3 separate regions of the Homo sapiens genome follow, and regions 2 and 3 are each linked to region 1. The links are contacts of gene promoters, found by promoter capture Hi-C in blood cells and fetal thymus (Javierre and others, 2016). All regions are on one chromosome and are shown on one strand. The core of a region is centred on a gene start or on the middle of the fragment in contact, and the rest is flanking DNA. Distances in the headings are between cores, read along the strand shown.

The links. The method cuts DNA at HindIII sites, captures the fragments that hold promoters and counts their contacts. A CHiCAGO score of 5 or more calls a contact.
Region 2: a contact is called between a fragment that was not itself captured here and the fragment with the promoter of LUC7L3 in region 1, in 1 of 17 cell types (fetal thymus). The highest score is 6.0, in fetal thymus.
Region 3: a fragment that was not itself captured here is called in contact with the fragment with the promoter of LUC7L3 in region 1 in 1 of 17 cell types (fetal thymus); the score reaches 9.0 in fetal thymus.

Annotation. Positions count from the first base shown.
Region 1 is chr17:50,716,737-50,721,770 of GRCh38, reverse strand. It overlaps LUC7L3 (LUC7 like 3 pre-mRNA splicing factor), which reads right to left and starts at 2,168. Exons shown (of 10, transcript NM_016424.5): 1 at 1,940-2,168. The coding sequence starts at 2,038. RefSeq lists silencers at 1,832-1,891, 2,232-2,461 and an enhancer at 2,062-2,201. The HindIII fragment of the contact is 10,215 bases long and covers 1-5,034 here.
Region 2 is chr17:50,947,396-50,952,429 of GRCh38, reverse strand. LOC124904029 (a long non-coding RNA gene) reads left to right here and starts at 899. Exons shown (of 2, transcript XR_007065849.1): 1 at 899-1,477; 2 at 1,678-3,377. RefSeq lists enhancers at 249-750, 1,391-1,917 and a silencer at 1,788-2,082. The HindIII fragment of the contact is 604 bases long and covers 2,620-3,223 here.
Region 3 is chr17:50,859,821-50,864,854 of GRCh38, reverse strand. TOB1 (transducer of ERBB2, 1) reads left to right here. Exons shown (of 2, transcript NM_005749.4): 2 at 692-2,632. The coding sequence starts at 838. The coding sequence ends at 1,875. Among named protein-coding and RNA genes, the nearest start is that of TOB1, 4.0 kb to the left of the region's middle. The HindIII fragment of the contact is 1,068 bases long and covers 897-1,964 here.

The DNA.
Region 1 (5,034 bases), core at 919-3,418:
TGGGTTTGCCCATCCCTGCAGGTTTAGCACTAACAGCCAACAGTACAAGAATATGCAGATGACCCGGAAACGATATCAACAGCTTCCCCAGCTTCATTATACAATAATTCCACCTATTTAGATGAGACCATGTGCTTTGTTTTTGCTCAACACTACCAACATTTTCCCTGCAGATATCAATCTGAAATGCCAGTAACTGACTTGAAATCCTTCAATCTAGAGTGAAGTGCAATCTGTCATTAAGGCATTAAATACTTTAGTAATAAACACTGAAAGTTAAAATTAGTGAAAAGTACTAAAACTGAAAGCAAAGCAGATTACGGCTGAGATGACATAAAACCTAAATTGCTATTCTGAGGGCCTCATCATTGAAGAGTCATAAACCCATCACATACAATGCAATGTGGCAACAAATTACCCCGGGAAAGAAAACAGTTTCTCTAAAACGTGTTCAAAGTCAAGGGTGCAGAGATACAAGGCTGTTCCAACTGATAAGGAGTGCAATGGAAAGCATTTTTCTCTTGAATTCAAAATATACAAATAACCTATTGAACATAAGCCAAATCGCCATAATGTTTTGGTTTTTTACCTTACTTAGGATTTTGAGCGTTATTCCTAACACATTTGCAAAGTTTAGACTGAAAGGTTACAGAGTCAGGTAGTTAAAAAAAAAAAAAGTTACTTCGCTATAACAAAGATGCCTACAAAAGAAAGATGGTCAAGGTAAGCAGTTCCTTAGTCTCCTATTGTGACAAATGGTCGGGGGGATGGGGAGCCTAAATGTTAAAAACAAAAAACCCACCTCTTAAAAACAATAAATTCTACTCTAAGAATGTTTCATACTACTTTGGAATCAGTTAGCACCCCAACACAACTTGAGCCAAACTTACTCTTTCTTAAAGTCCTAAAAGGAGTCATCTAGCACCAACTTGCTTTCCTACACTGCAAAAAAGAAATTTTACCTTAACCAAAGCCTACGTTTAAAAAGAGTAAGAAAACAGTTTTCTAAAGAAGCATGCATTACCTGAACTATTCCTTCCTATTTTGATTAGCAATTGTTTTAAAATTAGCATGTTAGATTATAACCTCAAAGTAAAATTAAATTCTGTATCTATTCTCCAGATAAGACCTAAAGTAAACATTACACTGCATGTTCAAAACTAGATCAAAACACTTGAAATGCTACAGTAGGTGCAGAGAACCAGTTTCATAGGATTGTGGAAAGCTAACAGAACTACAAAGATTAGTTTCCTCAGTTGCCAAGACTTTGGGTGAGCCTTTTTAAGTCTCACCAGTGAAACTGGGGTTATAATATTTACCTTTACTCCCCGGGCTAAGAGCATCAAATGAGTTTTATGTGGAAGAAAAAACCTTGACAGCTGCCTCTATAAGGGACTTCTTAGAATACTGTTAACGAACAATACTTGTAAATCATCACGGTAAACCCTAACAAGTAAACGACTTCTTTTACATTTCTATTTCCCCGTATAAGCGTCATGCTGTAATTACTTAAATAAAATACCGCCACGATTTTTACCATGAATCCTGGTCAGAAATTTTAGTCTAAATACGACGTTCAACCCAAACTATAGAAAAATGTGCCCTTCTCCCTATTTCATAATGAGGTGAAACCTCGGAGCCGCTAGATTTAATAAGACGCTGCTATCCTTCTTTCCCGCGTTTCCCCGCCTCATCAAGGTGCTTTTCAATTATGCCAAGGGCTCTCCCGGACCCCCTTGATACTAGAACAACAAAACCAAATCACCCCCATCCCCGGGTCCGGACAGCATCCTCCCTCCTGGCTCCATGGGCACCGGGTCAGACGCTCGACCCCGGGTGCGGCCCTGGCCACATCGCGCCGCGGCCAGGAGGGCCACAGCCCGCGCCCGCTCCCCTCCCCCACGGAGCCCGGGCTCAGGCCAAGGCCCGCGGGACTTACGCTCTCGTGGTCCCACCGCACGTTGCTGCGCTTCTCGTCCGGGGCTAGGTTTCGGTCCCGGCCCATTAACTCATCCAACAACTGCGCGGCCGAAATCATGGTGCTTCCTTCGGGCGGCTGTTCCCACCAGCCCAGGCACCCGCCAACGAAAACACGGGCGACACCGTCGCCAATCTCCTCGGCCCGCTCTCAGGCCGAAATCCCTCCTACACACAGGAGCCGACAAGACAAAATGGCCGCCGCGCGGACGCCTTCCCAGCATGCCGTGCGCCCGTGGGACACGCCCAGGCCCGGGCGGAGAGGGCGAGCTCGGCTTCCGCCGTCCGGGGGCGGGGCCCGCGGAGGCCGGGTAGGGACTCCGCCCCTGTCTAGAGGCCGCGGGGACGGGTAGCCTCTGCCCGCGCGCCTCCCCAAGCGCCCGGTTTTCCCGAGCTTCTTCACGGTGAGAAATTGGAGCCTAGGTCTTGAAGCCTGGACACCGCTTCAAAATGGAGAAAGTGTCTCCTTTAGTCCACGTGGTGCACATGGTGCCTCATGCAGCGGAGGAAACTGAAGATTACGGCTTCCGACTCCATTTTCCTAGTCGCTGTGCTCACGCCTCTTGCACCTGGCTTTGTCCTCCCGCCCTGAGTCTCCTGATTAACAGGATGGGAAATCGAGGCAAGAAGAGACAAGGCGGCTTCTAAAATACGGGGATTCAGTCCTACACCAAATGTCTCCCAGTGTGGAATTTTTTAAAAAGATATTGATCCAGTAGGCCAGGTGAGGTGGCTCACGCCTGTAATCACAGCACTTTGGGAGGCCGAAGCGGGCGGATCACCTGAGGTCGGGAGTTCGAGATCAGCCTGACCAACATGGAGAAACCCCGTCTCCACTAAAAATACAAAATTAGGTTGGCGTGGTGGCGCATGCCTGTAATCCCAACTACTCAGGGGGCTGAGGCTGGAGAATCGCTTGAACCCGGGAGGCGGAGGTCGCGGTGAGCCGAGATCGCGCCATTGCACTCCAGTCTGGACAACAAGAGCAAAACTCCATCTCAAAAAAAAAAAAAAAAAAAAAAAAAATATATATATATATATATATATATATACACACACACACACACACACACATACACACACACACACACACATATATATAGATAGGTAGATCCATTTATTCAACAAATGGTATGTGCCAGGCACTGTGCTTAAAGCTAAACTCAGAACCTTTCAGACAGTCCATGCTCCCGCAGACCTGTGCATTGGCGAGGGGAGATAATCGCTGAAGAAATAAAGTCACAAATATATCAACGTATGTTGGGATAATGCTTTAGCACAGTTAAGGGTATGGTCTCTAAAGCCAGATTGCCTGGGTTCGTAATCCCAGCTCTGCCGCTCTGTGCCTTTGTTTCCTTTTCTGTAAAATGGGGTTTACAATAGTCCTCCCCCGGCCCCCAGCCACGATGCTATTGTGAAGATTAAATGAGTTTATACAATGTAAGGCACTACACATTGATAACAAGCCCAACACTTTTATTTTTGGGGGGACTGGGTCTGGCCCTGTCACCCAGGCTGGAGTGCAATGGCACGATCTCAGCTCACTGCAGCTTCAACCTCCCGGGCTCAGGCGACCCCCTCGCCTCAACCTCCCCAGTAGCTGGGACTACAGGCGCATGCCACCACGCCCGGCTAAGTTTTTGTATTTTTGGTAGAGACGGGGTTTCGCCAAGTTGCCCAGGCTGGTCTTGAACTCCTGAGCTCAAATAATCCACCCACCTCAGCCTCCCAAAGTGTTGGGATTACAGGCGTGAACCACCGCGCCCGGTCGTGGACACCTCTTTTTAAGAAGGAAAGCAGCAAAATAGGGTGAGAACTCAAAGGAGGTATGGGACATGAAGCCTTTTTTTTTTTTTTTTTTTTTTTTTGAGCTATCGCTCAGGCTGGAGTGCAGTGGTACCATCTTGGCTCACTGCAACCTCTGCCTCCCGGGTTCAAGTTTATCCTGCCGCAGCCTCCTGAGTAGCTGGGATTACAAGCACCCGCCACCACGCCCAGCTAATTTTTGTACTTTTAGTAGAGACGGAGTTTCGCCATGTTGGCCAGGCTGATCTCAAACTCCTGACCTCAGGTGATCCACCTGCCTCGACCTCCCAAAGTTCCCAAAGTGCTGGGATTACAGGCGTGAGCCACCAAGTGGGGCTGGAGCCTTTTTGAAGATAGGAAATTAGAGGCTAGACATGGTGGCTCACGCCATAATCCCACTACTTTAGGGAGGCAGAGGCAGGGAGATAGCTTGAGGCCAGGAGTTTAAGACCTGCCTGGGCAACATAACAAGACGCCATTCTCCACAAAAAGGAAAAAAAAAGAAAAGACCAAAAAAAAAAAAACCCCAAACGTAGGAAATGAGAGAATGTTTAATGTTGGGGATATTCCAGTAGAGAGGTGGAAAATAAAAGAAGGGGATAGTTAATGACTTAAAATCTTAAAAAGGTAACGGGTTGGGTCCTGGCGTGGTGACTCACGCCTGGAATCCTAGCACTTTGGGAGGCAGAGGTGGGTCATTTGAGGTCATGGGTTCGAGACCAGCCTGGCCAACATGGGGAAACCCTGTCTCTACTAAAAACACAAAGGATAGCCAGGCGTGGTGGTGGCGCCTGTGATCTCAGCTACTCGGGAAGCTGAGGCAGGAGCATCGCTTTAAACAGTGGACTGTCAAGAGACTTAGGCTGTAGTGAGCCAAGGTCGCGCCACTGCACTCCAGCCTGGGCAACAGAGTGAGTGAGACTGTGTCTTAAAAAAAAAAAAAAAGTAATGGGTTAGGCTCCAGGGCATATTTGAAACCTCTGGCCTTTGATAGGAGAAAGGATCTTCTCCACTGAAACAAGAAAGAAGAAAATCAATTTACAGATTTAGCAGTGAGATGAGGCAGTTCTCAGCTGTTGGTTACAGTTTTCCCAATGAAGCATTTATTGAGGGCTCTCCACTGTTACTACCACCAAAAAAAAAAAGGCCGGCCACAGTGGCTCACACCTGCAATCCCAGCACTTTGGGAGGCCGAGGCAGACAGATCATGAGGTCAGGAGATCAAGACCATCCTGGCTAACACGGTGAAAC
Region 2 (5,034 bases), core at 1,672-4,171, 230 kb before region 1:
CTTCAATTTCAAGGAGTTTGTGGGTACCAGGTGCTCATTCATGGAGAGAATATTAAGGACACCTGCCCACAGGGAAGCAGAACCAGATGGGAAGAGGCTGAATCAGCCTGCCCTCCTTCCTCTGACCCCTGTGTGATCACCCTGTGACTGGGGTGCGGTGTGTGTGGGGAGAGGGAGGTGAAGGCGGGATTGCCAAAGGCAGAGACATCTGCCCTTTTTGGACAGCTGCCATGTGAGCACGCCCCTGTGTGCCCTGAGGTGGGCAGCTGTGCCAGCCCACGTGCCGAGCCTCACTCATCACCTTGCAGATGGGTGGCCCTGACTCAGCTGGCTGGATACCAGCTGTGGTTGTCCCATCCCAGAACATACTTCCTGTGACTGAGTGACCACCACACTTACCCAAGCATACCTGCCCCTGAAAGCAGAGGAAGGGGCCCAGAGGACTCAAGAGCTGGCCTTTTGTTCTGAGTTCTAGAATGCCGTGATGGTGGAGGAGGGGAGTGGAAGAGCTTCAAGATTTCAGGAACTTCCAAGTCCCTGGCTTTGTAGCATGTTGTAAAGACACGTGGGCCTCAGTTTCCCTGCTTATAAAATGAGAGCATTGGACTGGATGATTTCTAATAATCCATACCCATTGAGCATTTCTTTTTTTTTGAGACGGAGTCTCGCTCTGTCACCCAGCCTGGAGTGCAGTGGTACGATCTCAGCTCACTGCAAGCTCCGCCTCCTGGGTTCACGCCATTCTCCTGCCTCAGCCTCCCGAGTAGCTGGGACTACAGGCTCCCGCCACCACGCCCGGCTAATTTTTTTGTATTTTTAGTAGAGATGGAGTTTCGCCATGTTAGCCAGGATGGTCTCGATCTCCTGACCTCGTGATCCGCCTGCCTCGGCCTTCCAAAGTGCTGGGATTACAGGCGTGAGCCACCGCGCCCGGCCCGAGCATTTCTTACGTGATAGGGTCTTCATGTCCATTCTATCATTTAATTCTTTTTTATTTTATTTATTTATTTATTTATTTTTGAGATGGAGTCTGGCTCTGTCGCCCAAGCTGGAGTGCAGTGGCACATCTCAGCTCGCTGCAACCTCCGCCTCCTGGGTTCAAGCGGTTCTCCTGCCTCAGTCTCCGGAGTAGCTGGGACTACAGGCATGGCTAATTTTTGTATTTCTAGTAGAGACGGGGTTTCACTATGTTGGCCAGGCTGGTCTGGAACTCCTGACCTCAGGTGATCCTCCCACCGGGGCCTCCCAAAGTGCTGGGATTACAGGCATGAGCCACCACACCCAGCCTATCATTTAATTCATGCAATGCCCTAGGAGAGAGGGGCTGTGATTATTAGCCTCACATTACAGCTGAGGAAGCTGAGACTCAGAGAGTTTAAGTAACTTGCCCAGGGTCGCGAGGCCAGTAAGTGGAAGAGGGGTGGGTCCCCTGCCCAGGTCTGACCCAGCAGCATCGTTGAGGATGTCAGTGACGCAGGTGAGAGGCTACGAGTGTCCAGGAGAGTAATGCAAGGGTGACCTGCGGAGGGAGGAGGGGCAAGATCAGGCACCCCGCCCAGTGTGGGGAGCGGCTGAAGATGACTCGGAGGTTTGGAGGGTGGCGGTGCTATTAATAGAAATAGGGAAGTCAGGAGGAGGAGCCGGTTTAGGGCTAGAAGATGATGAATTCATTCTTAGGCATGTGGACACGGATTTGCTGACAGTGGGACCTTTAGGCCAAGATCCAGCCACAGTTCAATTAGGAAAAATCAGCACCTACGAAGTACCTCTAAACGCCAGCAACAGCCTTACCAAGATCAAATCCCCAAACCACTCACACGGCAAGGCTTCCCAAGTCACTGGCTGTGGGCTGAGGCTGCAGTGATGAGTCTGCAGCAGCCATGCCCACGGCTCAGGTTCAAGTCCTGCACTGACCACTGGGGGTCACCGCTGGCGCGCAGACCTGGTGCAGCCGTCCAGGGGGTGCCTGCGGCAAGGCCGACCTAGGGGAAGGGGCGCAGTGGGTTTCAGGGAGCCAGGCTCCCCCTCGACAGGGAGGCAGAGATCTCTTCCTCCTCTTACAGGGGTGGGAGGGAGAGAGGCTGGCAACTGCTTCTTCCAGGCTGTCATCTGGCAACAGTTTTCAGGGCAGCCTGATTAACCTTGAATCTAGTTCTGTTGACGTAGCACCAGGGGAAGGGTGAGGGAGCAGAGCCCCCTTCCCTGAGTTGGCAATGAAGCTCTAGGGGCCTGCCTGGGGGACATCGTGTCCGGGGCAACCGGGGCAACCAGGGCCTGCGACCTGGGGCAGTGGAGCCTGGGAGCTGAGTCCCAGCTGTTCCAAGCCTCATGTCTCCCCTGGCATCTGCGTCAGCAGCTCTGCCCTTTGACTTTTAATTCCCAGGAGAGGAGGGTGGAGGCAGTCTTGGCCATCGGGACTAATTATTTGTGATTCGATTCAACCAGCAGTTTATTGGGGTTTGGACTGGCTTCCTGCTCTCCTCTCAGCCTCCCACACCCCAGCTTTATGGCCCTGTTCTCCTTCGGAAGCTGAGAACAGAGAGCAGGAGTGGCTCTGCAGCAGACACCCCGGTTCCTCTTGGTCTCCTGATCTCGGGATGTCCTGTGGGAAGTTAAGCTTATAAAATGCTTTGAGTCCCTAGAGAGAGGTGGCCCCAAGCTCATGCCCAGCCCAGGCCCTGGGCCCTCCTAGGCCGGCCTCCTGTTCTACCTGGGCTTGTTCGGACCTGTCCCCAGGTGGGCCGGGCTGGGCCAGGAGAGGGGCGCCAGCCTCCCAGCTGTCCAGGTTAGGGGGTGCAGGGCTCAGAAGGGATGGGGGTGGAGCAGGCACCGTGGAACCTGCGAGGCTCCCAGGCCCCAGGGCCCCTGTCAGCGTCTACTGTCCCTCTATATTCGGCCACAGCGTTATTGCCATGTCCTCTCGGGACAGGCAGCCAGCCCGACCCATGATGTCTCCTCCAAGGGCCTGGACTATTTTGGAACCAGCCTTGGGGGTGCTGGGGGAGGCCGAGGTGGGGTTTAAGGGAAGATTGCCTCGCGGCTCCCGGTCAGGGATGAGCAGAGGGTGTGTGGCATGGGGAACTGGCCCCTAGGCCCTTCTCAGAATTCCCAGTACAGTTACGTGAATGTTCCTTCTGCTCAGGTTTCCTGGGGATGCCTAGGCTGGGGCCTCAGGGGCTGAGTCTGGGCAAGAACCCAGCCCCTCCTCCCCCCGGGAGAAGCTTCCAGCTGTTTAGATTCATCCCTCAATTAAAAAACATTGCCCCCCTGTGCCAGGTTTCACCCAGAGCCACGTACAAGCTAGCCCAGTGGGTCTCAGCCTTTCGGATTTCTCACATCACTAACATTTCAAAAAAATAAAAAAATTTAGGATCTGACGTCGTCACCAGTTTTGTTTTTGCGACAGAGCCTCGCTGTGTCACCCAGGCTGGAGCGCAGTGGTGCCATCTCAGCTCACTGCAACCCCCGCCTCCTAGGTTTAAGCGACTCCTGTGCCTCAGCTTCTCGAGTAGCTGGAATTACAGGCGTCCGCCACCATACCCAGCTAATTTCTGTATTTTTAGTAGAGATGGGGTTTCACCATGTTGGCCAGGCTGGTCTCAGACTACTGGCCTTAAGCGATCTGTCCACCTCGGCCTCCCAAAGTGCTGGGATTTCAGGCATGAGCCACCACACCAGCTAGTCACCAGTTTTTTTATTTTGCTGAGTTTGAGGTCATTAAAAGGAAATGTCAAAGGAAAGGTCCTTTTGTGCTCACACACACAGACACACACAGACACAGACACACACACACAGACACACACACGATTGAAAATACAAAGCTCAGATAAAAGGACAGTCTTTTGGATTGAGTAAACCTAGCTTTAGTAAAACCTCACTATATTGTCCTTATTTTTCTCATTTTGCTGCTGGCAGATGAGAACATGGCGATGGCTGGCACTGGGCACCGGCTGAGGGACTTGTGCTCCAGGAACTGTTGGTCTTGCCACTCCTCCGCCTGGGCCCAGTGCCAAGGGCAGCCAGCTCTGCTCCGGGGAACCCCTCCCCAGCACGTATCTCCCAATCTCTCATGCACCGGTCACTGCCACTTTTGCTTCTATCTTCCTGTCCTCCATGCCCCTCCCCCAATATTTGCAGGAGGGGGAAGGTGGGGAGCAGGCTTCACACAGCTCCCAGACTAAAGATGGCACCGCTAGCCGATCACTGCAGCCCAGAGTCCACCCATGGGGAAGTCACACGTCGCCCGCTCCTTGGAGGGGGTCTCTGCTGTGGAAGGTGCTGGTCTGGGCAGGGTCAAGAATTCCAGAGTGGCCACCGCTTCCTGGCCATGGGATCTGAGATGAGTCCCAGAACCTCCTTCCTTGAGCTTCAGCTTCTTGTTCTATAAAATGGGCATATTAACTCCTCATCACAGGGCTGGTGCAAGGGTGGTGTGAGTGACAGAATGTTTGTGAAAGTCCTTGCTGAGCTATAAAGCTTAGGTAGGGGTAGTTATTATTACGATGGGAAACTAGTAAATGGCTGAAGAAAGAGCAGCCCAAAAGCTGACCTCAGCCTCTGGGTACGAAGACAGTGCTCACACCCACCCCCAGGTCTGTGATCTGGGGCCCCTCCAGCCCCACAGAGGAGCAACGCCAGCCTGACCCCATGAGTCAGCAATGCCAGGGCTGGACCACGGCATTCTGGAAGTCGGAACTAGGCCTAGTCTGTGTTGGAGACAGGGTCTGCTGTGTTTTTGGAGAGAGGGTCTGCTTCTGTTGACTTGTAGTGGCCCCACTATGTGGTTATTGCAGCCGACGGCCCCTCAAATTGTAGAGAAGTGTGCGAAGGGCCTCCCCAAGGCGGAGCCCCTTTTGGATGGATGGAGGTTTGAGGATTCAAGGTGTTCGCGGAGGATCGGATTTTAAGGGCTGTCCCCGCCCCCGCTGTGTCACTGTGGGGCAGTGTGGGAAACACGCCCACCCATGTTCCTAGTCCAGTTCACCATTCACTCTAGCTGTGTGGCTGCCTCTCCCAGCCTCAGTTTCCTCATCT
Region 3 (5,034 bases), core at 181-2,680, 140 kb before region 1:
TTGAAAACAAAAGGCCCAGAGAAGCTGGATTTTATTATATTGTATGCTCTTAGTATACTTAAGGCCGAAACTATATAGAATAATTTGGTTCATAATTATTTACTAGGATGAAGTTCATTTAGTACTCAGTGTCTTTAATTTTAGCATCATGTACTATGGAAATTAAAATGATCTTCCTAACGTAACCAAATTTTTAAATGTCAGTGACAGAGCAGATTTAAACAGTATATATCCAAAGTAAACTAAAACATGGATTCACTTCTAAGTTGGTGAATAACAATAAAAATTACTACCTAAAAGTGGCATCTATATATATGGGGGTGGGGGGAGGATGCTGAGTACAATAAATATTCTTGTGAGAACTGAGGAGAGAAGAATGCATGTTCTAGAGATTTTTCTTCTTAGAACTCTATTCAGAAACAGGTTTTTAAAAGCATTATTTCATTTGTAAATCTACATTTTCCTGTGTCATTTTAAACTTTAATAAACGATTTTCTATTTTATGTTTATTTTGTGCTAGTAACAGTTTTCAGGCTTTCTGTCCTAGTAGACATTTTCTTTTTCTTTTTATCCTTAGCAGACTAACACAGGATCTTAGACATTTTGAAAGGTGAAATTACTTTGGAGGGGGGAAGGTCATGGGACTTATATTACATTTATCTTATTTGGATATGTTTGCTTTTGTTTTAAGGAACAAGATCACTCAAGGTGAAGGATAATCTACTAATACCAGCACTTTGAATGAAAATTTGTTTCTCTGCCACAAACTGAACATCTTTTTTTTTTTTTTTTTTTTTTGGTGGGGGAGTTGAAACCTAATTTTGTGGCGTAGCAGCTATGCAGCTTGAAATCCAAGTAGCACTAAATTTTATTATTTCGTATTTGTACAATAAGCTTCCCAGGAGACGTGTCAACATTTTTGGTGAAGAACTTGAAAGACTTCTTAAGAAGAAATATGAAGGGCACTGGTATCCTGAAAAGCCATACAAAGGATCGGGGTTTAGATGTATACACATAGGGGAGAAAGTGGACCCAGTGATTGAACAAGCATCCAAAGAGAGTGGTTTGGACATTGATGATGTTCGTGGCAATCTGCCACAGGATCTTAGTGTTTGGATCGACCCATTTGAGGTTTCTTACCAAATTGGTGAAAAGGGACCAGTGAAGGTGCTTTACGTGGATGATAATAATGAAAATGGATGTGAGTTGGATAAGGAGATCAAAAACAGCTTTAACCCAGAGGCCCAGGTTTTTATGCCCATAAGTGACCCAGCCTCATCAGTGTCCAGCTCTCCATCGCCTCCTTTTGGTCACTCTGCTGCTGTAAGCCCTACCTTCATGCCCCGGTCCACTCAGCCTTTAACCTTTACCACTGCCACTTTTGCTGCCACCAAGTTCGGCTCTACCAAAATGAAGAATAGTGGCCGTAGCAACAAGGTTGCACGTACTTCTCCCATCAACCTCGGCTTGAATGTGAATGACCTCTTGAAGCAGAAAGCCATCTCTTCCTCAATGCACTCTCTGTATGGGCTTGGCTTGGGTAGCCAGCAGCAGCCACAGCAACAGCAGCAGCCAGCCCAGCCGCCACCGCCACCACCACCACCACAGCAGCAACAACAGCAGAAAACCTCTGCTCTTTCTCCTAATGCCAAGGAATTTATTTTTCCTAATATGCAGGGTCAAGGTAGTAGTACCAATGGAATGTTCCCAGGTGACAGCCCCCTTAACCTCAGTCCTCTCCAGTACAGTAATGCCTTTGATGTGTTTGCAGCCTATGGAGGCCTCAATGAGAAATCTTTTGTAGATGGCTTGAATTTTAGCTTAAATAACATGCAGTATTCTAACCAGCAATTCCAGCCTGTTATGGCTAACTAAAAAAAAGAAAATGTATCGTACAAGTTAAAATGCACGGGCCCAAGGGGGATTTTTTTTTTCACCTCCTTGAGAATTTTTTTTTTTAAGCTTATAGTAAGGATACATTCAAGCTTGGTTAAAAAAATAATAATAAAACATGCATCATTTTTCATTTGCCAACCAAGCACAAAGTTATTTTATACTGACTGTATATTTTAAAGTATACTCTCAGATATGGCCTCTTACAGTATTTAAGATATAGCAAGGACATGGCTGATTTTTTTTTATAAAAATTGGCACTAATAAGTGGGTTTATTGGTCTTTTCTAATTGTATAATTTAATTTAGTACAAAGTTTGTAAAATATCAGAGGATATATATATATTGTTTCTACGACATGGTATTGCATTTATATCTTTTTACTACAGTGATCTGTGACAGCAGCAGCTTCATGTTGTATTTTTTTTACTGAAATTGTAAAATATCCATCTTAAAGACATCAACTATTCTAAAAATTGTGTACAGGATATTCCTTTAGTGGTGGAATTAAAATGTACGAATACTTGCTTTTTCAAAAAAATGTATTTTCTGTTAAAAGTTTAAAGATTTTTGCTATATATTATGGAAGAAAAATGTAATCGTAAATATTAATTTTGTACCTATATTGTGCAATACTTGAAAAAAACGGTATAAAAGTATTTTGAGTCAGTGTCTTACATGTTAAGAGGGACTGAAATAGTTTATATTAAGTTTGTATTAAAATTCTTTAAAATTAAAAATGCCTATTGTCTTTGTTTTTAAGTGTTTTCTGAAGATCGACCTCTGGAGTTATTATGTTGTAAATGCTAATGATGGAAAAAGGCCTGACTCATTGAGTCACGAAGGAATAATGGAAAGCAGTTGCTCTACTGATGTACCAGATCGTGGTTTGCCACATAAAAAATGCTATCAAAACTATAGCCTGACCAGTGCTTGGTACAACTTTATTTTTTAACAGCCCTCTTCAGTCCACATTTGTCTACCCCATTATAGAGATGGTATGGTAAGGTTAGCTATACAGCAAGTTTCAAAATGTCATGCTGACATGGAGGAGTCAGGTGATAAGATGAAATTCCTTCGTGTAATCTGAGATGATTTATTTGAAATTTATATGGAGAGAGCATTGGATCAGTTTTCTGTTTTTGCTGAGGAAACTTGCTTGGACAAAACGGCTGACTGAACTTAGAAAAATTTACATCACTTTACTAATCTTTAAAGTTTAGCTATTGCATATAGCTAGAGAACTTATGGTCAAAATCTATTCACGGCTGGACAGATGGTTAGATGTTAGCATTTTCATTTTCCCAGCAAAAACGCTTATGTATTTAATTTTTTGCAAGTGGGTACCCAACCTGCTGGTTTGAAGGATTTAGAGATATTGACAATGTATCAAATTGGAGTGGCTTGGTGAGGATGGAGTTTTTTAAAACTGAAGAGTTGGGGAGAAGAACACTAAATGAGTCATTTCACTAAATGTCAATTGATACAGTATTGACATAGTATTGGTGAGAAAGTTAACGTCCATTTGATACAGTGTTGACATAGTATTGGTGAGAAAGCTGTCTTAAAAAACTTTATATGTACTTTTATAGTAAGAAACCAGCACTGCCTGGGTTACCAGTGAAATAAATTTGGTCTCATGAGCTTTTTGGACACCAGTCTACAAAAGCCTTTTGTCATTTACCCATGCAGTGTAGAGCAATACAAAGTTTTAAGGAAACAAGCACTGGAAATAACAGAGCTAAGCTGTTTGTCAGCTCCATGGTGAGGCTTTTGTTCTTTAGGGAACAGAACGAGGCTATGAAGAAGTATTGGAATAATGGGTGCAAGCAGCAGAGATCTGGTCTGCCAACACTTACCACTTACATGCTTTTGTGATCACGAAGTTTGAATAGCTGTAAGAACCATCAGGATAATGGCTTTAAGCACTAGTTTCTGCTACAGACTGATAAAGTTACATTTGGGAGAAAACTCTACTTATAAATGAAGGCTCAAGTGTAATGTGCTTTTTCTGAAAATCATAAGGCAGCTGGACGGAACATAATAGAATTTTTTTTTTTTTTGAGACGGAGTCTCTTGCTCTGTCACCCAGGCTGGAGTGCAGTGGCACCATCTCGGCTCACTGCAACCTTCCACCTCCCAGGTTCAAGTGATTCTCCTGCCTCAACTTCCCGAGTAGCTGAGACTACAGGCGCCCGCCACCATGTTGGCTAATTTTTGTATTTTTAGTAGAGACGGGGTTTCACCATGTTGACCAGGCTGGTCTCGAACTCCTGGCCTCAAATGAGCTGCCTGCCTTGGCTTCCCAAAGTGCTCTGATTACAGGCATGAGCCATTGCGCCTGGTCAACAATAGAATTTGAAACTGTCTGGAGCACTAATATATTCATTTTATTTTGAGACAAGGTCTCACTCTGTCACCCAGGCTGGAGTGCAAAGGGGCCATCTTGGCTTACTGCAACCTCCACTAAAGCGATTCTCCTGTCTCACTCTCCTGAATAGCTGGGATTATAGCTGCGTGCCACCGTTCCCTGCTAATTTTTGTATTTTTTGTAGAGGCAGGGTTTCGCCACGTTGCCTGGGCTGGTCTCAAACTCCTGAACTAAGGTGATCCGCCCGCATTGGCCTCCCAAAATGCTGAGATTACAGGCGTGAGCCACCACACCCAGCCAAGCACTAATATATTCAGATTTTAAATACTGAGGTTAACATAAGCCTGAATATCTGTTTCAGATCTTAAGGATATATGTATCGACAAAAATCTTAGGGAAATTTCATCTTGGTACATATGTTTGACATCGGAGAATGACTAACTCAAAATGTGATCTTGATTGGTTTTATTAAAACTTGAGCTTGGTGTCCTTGAGAACTTCATCTTTTTTTTTTTTTAGACAGAGTCTCGCTCTGTTGCCAGGCTGGAGTGCAGTGGTGAAATCTTGGCTCCCTGCAACCTCCGCCTGTCGGGTTCAAGTGATTCTCCTGCCTCAACCTCCCAAGTAGCTGGGACTACAGACGCGCGCCACCACGCCCAGCTAATTTTTATAGTTTTAGTAGAGACGAGACGGGGTTGGCCAGAATGGTCTCGATCGCCTGATCTCATGATCCTCCCGCTTTGGCCTCCCAAAATGCTGGGATTACAGGTG